Linked DNA regions of Homo sapiens: region 2 is linked to region 1. Evidence: promoter capture Hi-C in human tissues and cell types (Jung and others, 2019). All regions are on one chromosome and are shown on one strand. The core of a region is centred on a gene start or on the middle of the fragment in contact, and the rest is flanking DNA. Distances in the headings are between cores, read along the strand shown. Region 1 has its middle 7.2 kb from the start of LDHD. Region 2 holds the start of FA2H (fatty acid 2-hydroxylase).

Region 1 (3,884 bases), core at 553-3,052:
ACAGGCACCTGCCATCATGCCTGGCTAATTTTTGTATTTTGGTAGAGATGGGGTTTCACCATGTTAGCCAGGCTGGTCCTGAACTCCTAACTTCAGGTGATCTGCCCTCCTCGGCCTGCCAAAGTGCTGGGCTTACAGTCATGAGCCACCGCACCCGGCCTGAAAACCTTCATTCTTTAAGAGAAGAGATTTAAATGATAAGCCCTAGTAAAAACAACATGAAGCCAATTAAATTTGTTTTCCAAAATTTTATAAACAATTTATAAAATTTTCATCTTGATCATAAAATACAACTTCCAGCTGGGCACGGTGGCTCAGGCCTGTAATCCCAGCACTTTGGAAGGCCCAGGTGGGTGATCACTTGAGGTCAGGTGTTCAAGACCAGTCTGACAAACATGGTGAAACCCTGTCTCTACTAAAAAAATACAAAATTAGCCAGGTGTGGTGGTGCATGCCTGTAATCCTAGTTACCTGGGTGGGTGAGGCAGGAGAAATCTCTTGAACCTAGGAGGTGGAGTCTGCAGTGAGCTGAGATTGTGCCATTGCACACCAGCCTGGGCGACAAGAGCCAAACTCCGTCACAAAACAACAAACAAACAAACAAAAGTACATACAGGCAGATAGAAGGATGTGATAATTTTAATTAAAAAAAAATTTTTTTCGAGATAGAGTCTTGCTCTGTTGTCCCAGCTGGAGTGCAGTGGCATGACCTCAGCTCACTGTAACCACTGCTTCCTAGGTGCAAGCAATTCTCCTGCCTCAGCCTCCCAAATAGCTGGGATTACAGGTGCGTGCCACCATGCCTGGCTAATTTTTGTATTTTTAGTACAGATGGGGTTTCACCATGTTGGCCAGGCTGGTCTCAAACTCCTGACCTTTGATCCACCCACCTCGGCCTCCCAAAGTGTTGGGATTCCAGACCTTAGCCAGTGAGCCCAGCCCATTCCTCTTTCTTAAACTACCAGCCATTTTACTTTAGTACTAAATTTATCATACAAAATTCTTTCTCATATGAAATTATTTCTCTTTAAGCTTTCTTACCAAAAAAAAAAAAAAACCTCTTTATTTTTATAACTTTTTTTTACATCTCTTTTATTCCCTGGTTCCTTTTACCTTGCTTTTTTTTTTTTTTTTGAGATGGAGTCTTGCTCTGTTGCCCAGGCTGGAGTGCAGTGGCACCATCTCAGCTCGCCGCAAGCTCCGCCTCCCAGGTTCATGCCATTCTCCTGCCTCAGCCTCCCAAGTAGATGGGACTACAGGCGCCTGCCGCCACGTCCAGCTAATTTTGTTTTTGTATTTTTAGTAGAGATGGGGTTTCACCGTGTTAGCCAGGATGGTCTCGATCTCCTGACCTCATGATCCACCCGCCTCAGCCTCCCAAAGTGCTGGGATTACAGGCGTGAGCCACCATGCCCGGCCCCTTTTACCTTGTTTTATACATGACCTTTAAATTAGCTTTGAAGCCGGGCGTGGTGGCTCACGCCTGTAATCCCAGCACTTTAAGAGGCTGAGGAGGGCAGATCACCTGAGGTCAGGAGTCCAAGACCAGCCTGGCTAACATGGCAAAACCCTGTCTCTACTAAAAAATATCAGAATTAGCCAGGAGTGGTGGTGGGTGCCTGTAATCCCAGCTACTTGGGAGGCTGAGGCAGGAGAATCGCTTGAACCTGGAAGGCAGAGGTTGCAGTGAGCTTTGTACCACTGCACTCCAGCCTGGGCAACAGAGCAAGACTCTTGTCTCAAAAAAAAAAAACTTTCAATTAGACAAAAATTGTTCACCTTTTTCAAAAGGACACACTTATTTTTTATTTGTATTTTACTTTTTTTGAGATGGAGTCTCACTTTGTCACCCAGGCTGGAGTGCAGAGGCGCAATCTTGGCTTACTGCAACCTCTGCTTCCTGGGTTCAAGTGATTCTCCTCCCTCTGCCTCCCGAGTAGTTGGGACTACAGGTGCGTGCTATCAGGCCCAGCTAATTTTTTTTTGTATTTTTAGTAGAGACAGGGTTTCACCGTGTCGGCCAGAATGGTCTTGATTTCCTGACCTTGTGATGCATCCTCCTTGGCCTCCTAAAGTGCTGGGATTACAGGTGTGAGCCACCACACCTGGCTGGGACACAACTTTTTTTAAGAAAGAATGTTTTTGGCCTGTGTGGTGGCTCACACCTGTAATCCCAGCACTTTGGGAGGCTGAGGTGGACAGATTGCCTGAGCTCAGGAGTTCGAGACCAGCCTGGGCAACATAGTGAAACTCTGTCTCTACTAAAATACAAAAAATTAGCCAGACATGGTGGCATGCATCTGTAGTCCCAGCTACTTGGGAGGCTGAGGCAGGAGAATTGCTTGAACCCTGCACCACTGCACTCCAGCCTGGGTGACAGAGGAAGACTCTTTCTCCAAAAAAAAAGAATGTTTTCCTACATATATATATATATATATATATATATATATATATATATATATATACATATACACACACACACACACACACATTCTTATATATATATTTGTAGGAAAACATTCCACAAATATATATACACATATATATATATATACACATATATATATTTTAGACAGAGTCTCTGTGTCGCCCAGGCTGGAGTGCAGTGGCATGATCTTGGTTCACTGCAACCTCCACCTCCTGGGTTCAAGTGATTCTCCTGCCTCAGCCTCCTGAGTAGCTGGGACTACAGGCATGCACCACTGTGCCCAGCTAATTTTTGCATTTTTAATAGAGATGAGGTTTCACCATGTTGGCCAGGCTGGTCTCAAACTTCTGACCTCACGTGATCCACTCGCCTTGTCCTCCCCAAGTGCTGGGATTACAGGTGTGAGCCACTGCACTTGGCCCAAATATATTTTTATTGGAAAATACCCAAATAATAAAATCTCTATTATTTAACTTTAGATTCAAAATTATGAGTTTGTCTATATTTATCCTATAATATTTACTTATTTTATTTTAATTACTTACCTAGATTATTTATAAAAACTGTGCTTGTCATTATTTAAAATTATGGAACTGCCATTGCAAAATTATCACTGAGACAGTGAAAAAGATTGCACCTAAGTGACTCCATCTTGCTTCTAACCTCCAAGCTGTTCTTGTTCATTCCTGGGCATAGGCCAAACTAACTTTGGGAGGAACTTATAATTTAGCTTTGAAACAAAGATGATAACAGTGCTTTTCCAAAACAAACACTATTGCCTATAGACCGGACTGCCTAAAGCCACAAGATGAGAAGTTATGGTAATCTTACTAAATTTAAGATGTAGCTATTTTTATTAAACCAATATTAATGTCTTATTTATTAAAGATTTGTTAAATATAGTGAACTCCAAGTTTCTCTTCAAAGAATCAGTATGTCAGTATGTTCAGCTCTCTTATTCTTTGATTCTCCATTTTAAAGTTTAGCTTCCTGGTTCTCTTTGCCCCCTAGCTTCTAGTTTCAGTAAACAACTTTCCCGCCAGTCCTAATCAGTAGTTCACAGCTGTTCCCCTGGTCACCTGCTTTGACCTGAGTCACTCTTGGTCACCTACTCTGTCCTGATTCATCCTGAGCCAACTGTTCTGTAACCGCCCTTACTGCTAAACTACTCACCCTGCCACTCCGGCTGGTACTCCTGCTCTTTTTAAAATAGTCAATTGGAATTAGCTTAGACTGTGCGGTCCAACCCTATCCAATAGGGGAACGACACAGCAGTAGGGGCTACCTGCATGAGGAATAAGAACTCCTGCCCCTCCCCTGTCCAAGTGTGCTCTCACCATTGTTTCATCTGCGAGGGGCACCTTTTCTGCAGAAAGTGAAAATTGCCTTGCTGAGAAAACTAAATTTATGTTTGAGTGCTATTTCTTTGTGGCACTGGGGAATAAGCATTTTGCAT
Region 2 (3,884 bases), core at 483-2,982, 350 kb after region 1:
GGTGCCCCATTAAATTTTGCCCTCGAACATTATTAAAAAGTCAAGAAACAGTAGATGTCTGCGTGTATGTAGTGAAAGGGGGATGCTTATGCTATGCACTGCTGGTGGGAATGTAAATTAGTACAACTTGTTTGGAAAACAGTACAGAGATTCTTTAACAAACTAAAAGTACACTTTGGGGCTGGGCGCGGTGGCTCACGCCTGTAATCCCAGCATTTTGGGAGGCTGCGGCGGGAGGATCACTAGAGGCCAGGAGTTCGAGACCAACCTGGCCAACATGGTGAAACCCCGTCTCTACTAAAAATACAAAAAAATTAGCCGGGCGTGGTGGCACGCGCCTATAGTCATAGCTACTCTGGAGGCTGAGGCAGGAGAATCGCTTGAACCCGGGAGGCGGAGGTAGCAGTGAGCTGAGATTGTGCCACTGCACTTCAGCCTGGGCAACAGAGTGAGACTCTGTCTCAAAAAAAAAAAAAAAAAGTGCACTATGGGAGGCCATGGCAGGCAAATCGCTTGAGCCCAGGAGTTTGAGACCATCCTGGGCAGCATGGTGAAACCTCGTCTCTACAAAAAATACAAAAATTAGCCAGGCGTAGTGGTGCATGCCTGTAGTGCCAGCTACTTGGGAGGCTGAGGTAAGAGGATTGCTTGAGCCCGGGAGGTCGAGGCTGCAGTGAACCAAGATCGCACCACTACTCTCCAGCCTGGGTGACAGAGTGAGACCTTGTCACGGGAAGGGAAGGGAAAGGAAGGGAAGGGGAGGGGAGGGGAGGGGAGGAGAGAAAAAGTAGATTCACCATTCGGTCCAGCAATCCCACCACTGGGTATCTACCCAAAGGAAAAGAGTCATTATATGAAAAAGACACTTGCACACGAATGTTTGTTTTTTGCAGCCCAATTCACAATCGAAAAGATATGGAACCAACTTAAATAACCATCAACCAATGAGTGGATAAAGAAAATGTAGTTGATATACACGATAGAATACTACTCAGCCATAAAAAGGAACGAAATGAAGTCTTTTGCAGCAACTTGCATGGAGCTGGAGGCCATTATTCTAAGTGAAAGTGATTCAGGAATGGAAAACCAAACACTGTATGTTCTCACTCATAAGTAGGAACTAAGCTATGAGGACGCAAAGGCATACAGAGTGATATAATGGACAATAGGGAGAATGGGAGGGGGTGTAACACACACACACACACAAAACCCTACACATTGGGTATAATGTACACTACTCGGGGGACAGGTGGACTAAAATCTCAGGACTTACCACTATACAATTCCTCCATGTAACCAAAAACCACTGGTACCCCAAAAGCTACTGAAATTTTAAAAACAAACAAATATTTGCACCCGAGGCGAGCACCTCATTCGCCTCTCGCTCTCTCGGGCACCTCCTGGAGCCAGAGGGTCCCATGCGGCCAGCTCCTCCGTGGAAGCAGTTGAAGTTATTCCAGCAGCGATCAGGCCACCGAGGATGTCCGCCCAGACAACCACCCGCGACGGGGAGACTCGCTCCGCCTGTGTCCGCCCACCCTCCTCCCGCGCGGGACACACCTGGCGGGCGCGGCACTCCCTGTCCGCGGCCACCTGGCGCGCAGCTCCCGGCGCCGGGCCCGCCCCTCGCGGCTCTGCCGGGGCTCCCGGCCGGCCAATGGGAGCGCGGTATGCAAATGAGCAGGTGCGGTGGCGGCCCGCCCGGAACGGCCGCGGGGCTCCCGGGATGTTAGAGGCGCTCAGGGTGGCAGCAGAGCAGACGCCGGGCTGCGCGCTGGGAGCTGCGGTCTCCGGCCATGGCCCCCGCTCCGCCCCCCGCCGCCTCCTTCTCGCCCTCCGAGGTCCAGCGGCGCCTGGCGGCCGGCGCGTGCTGGGTCCGCCGCGGGGCCCGCCTCTACGACCTCTCCAGCTTCGTGCGGCACCACCCGGGGGGCGAGCAGCTGCTGCGGGCCAGGGCGGGCCAGGACATCAGCGCCGACCTGGACGGGCCGCCGCACAGGCACTCGGCCAACGCGCGCCGCTGGCTGGAGCAGTACTACGTGGGAGAGCTCCGCGGGGAGCAGCAGGTACAGCCGGGCCGGGGCCCCCCACCCCAACCCAGGCCTCCGTCAGCCTTCCACTCCCGGGCGAGCCCCGTTCACTTGCCCTCTAGCAGGACCCAAGGTGACAGCTTCTGCCCTCCCTTCCCTCGCTTTCCCTCTCTTCTCTCCAGGCAACAGGTCACTGTCGTCCCCTCCAACCCCTCCTTCCTCTCTCCAGGAACTTGCTCTTCCTTTCCACCCTTACCGCCTGGCCCGCCTCCGTGCCAGCTCTCCCATTTCCCCAGCACCCCTCCTTCCAGCGTGTTCCTTCTGCAGCCCCTGCCCTCCGACAACCTGGATTCCCGTTTCTGTCCCCAGCCCCCCATACGCCTCGGCTTTCCTTCCTCTTCACTTATCGGCCTCTCCCTCTTTGCAACCACTCTCCGTTTCTGTTTGGATAATGGGCTCAACCTGTTCCCACCTCCCCATCCCACCTCACTTCTGCTTCAAAGAGGCACAGATCAGTAACTCTTCTCACTAGCTTGGGTTTCCTGGTGCCGCCCTGGCCTTGCCTGGGCCATGTCTGGGGTGGACTGTGTCCTCCAACCTCTCAGACCTTCCCTTATATTCTTGTCCTACACGCTGGCTTGGGACTCCAAAAGAGTGAAATGAAAGGCATGAGCCAGTTTTGCCAAGGAAAAGGGACCAGCACTTTGGACCAGACTGTGTGCTGAGCTGCACGCTTCTGTGCAGTACCAGCTCCCGATGGTATTTAAGTCCTTAACTCAACCTGGGGCAGGTTTTGTTATTCCCATTTCAGGATATGGAATCTGAGGCTCAGGGAGGCTCTGATTAATGCGCCTAAGGTCAAATAGCTAAATAGTGGGAAAGCCACATGTATCTGACTCCAAAATCAATGCTGGCTCCATCCCAAAAGTCTTCGGGTGGAGGAGACAGACCTAGTCCACAGGATTCCAGGTAGGCTCAGGCCAGAGGCAAAGCGACTCTCTTGATGTTCCCCAGGCCTGGCTCTGGGACTGGTATGGGGCCATCATGCTTAGATATACAGTAGTTCCCCCTTGTCCAAGGGGATACATTTCAAGACCCTCAGTGGATCCTTAAAACCACAGATAGTACCGAATCCTATATATGCTATGTTTTTTCCCATATATGCATATCTATGATAAAGTTAAATTTATAAATTAAGAACAATAGGAAGAGATTAACAACAACAATAATAGAATAGTTACAACAATATACTGTAATAAGAGCTATTTGTATGTGGTCCCTTTCTCTCAAAACATCTTATAGTACTGTACTCACTCTTCTTGTGATAATGTAAGATGATAACATGAGGCCAGGCAAAGTGGCTGACATCTGTAATCCTAGCACTTTGGGAGGCCGAGGTAAGAGGATCGCTCGAGCCCAGGAGTTCAAGACCAGCCTGGGCAACATAGGGAGACCTTGTGTCTACAAAAAATACCAAAATTAGCCGGGTGTGGTGGCATGTGGCTATAATTCTAGCTACTTGGGAGGCTAAGGTGGGAGGATCACCTGAGAGGTGGAGGCTGCAGTGAGCCATGATCATGCCACTGCACTCCAGCCTGAGCAACAGAGTGAGAGCTCACCTCAAAAAAAAAAAGATAATAAGATGCCTACATGATGGGTTGGAGTGAGGTGAATGACAGGTGTGGTGATGTGGCATTGGCTACTATTGAAAAGTAATTTAAAACTTATAAATTATTTCTGGAATTTTCCATTTAATTATGTTTTTGGACCCAGGTTGACCGTGGGTTACTGAAACCATGGAAAGTGAAACCGTGGATAAGGGGGACTCCTGAAAACCAACAATTGTCCCCTGCT

What was found. The method cuts DNA at HindIII sites, captures the fragments that hold promoters and counts their contacts. A contact is called where the count stands out against the background at its distance.
Region 2: the fragment with the promoter of FA2H here is called in contact with a fragment that was not itself captured in region 1 in 1 of the 25 tissues and cell types used here (dorsolateral prefrontal cortex).

The regions. Positions count from the first base shown.
Region 1 is chr16:75,122,037-75,125,920 of GRCh38, reverse strand. It overlaps a transcript of ZFP1 not described here. Among named protein-coding and RNA genes, the nearest start is that of LDHD, 7.2 kb to the right of the region's middle. The HindIII fragment of the contact is 6,546 bases long and covers 1-3,884 here.
Region 2 is chr16:74,772,668-74,776,551 of GRCh38, reverse strand. It overlaps FA2H (fatty acid 2-hydroxylase), which reads left to right and starts at 1,732. Exons shown (of 7, transcript NM_024306.5): 1 at 1,732-2,066. The coding sequence starts at 1,797. RefSeq lists silencers at 1,426-1,485, 1,496-1,625, 1,636-2,005, 2,046-2,095. The HindIII fragment of the contact is 21,235 bases long and covers 1-3,884 here.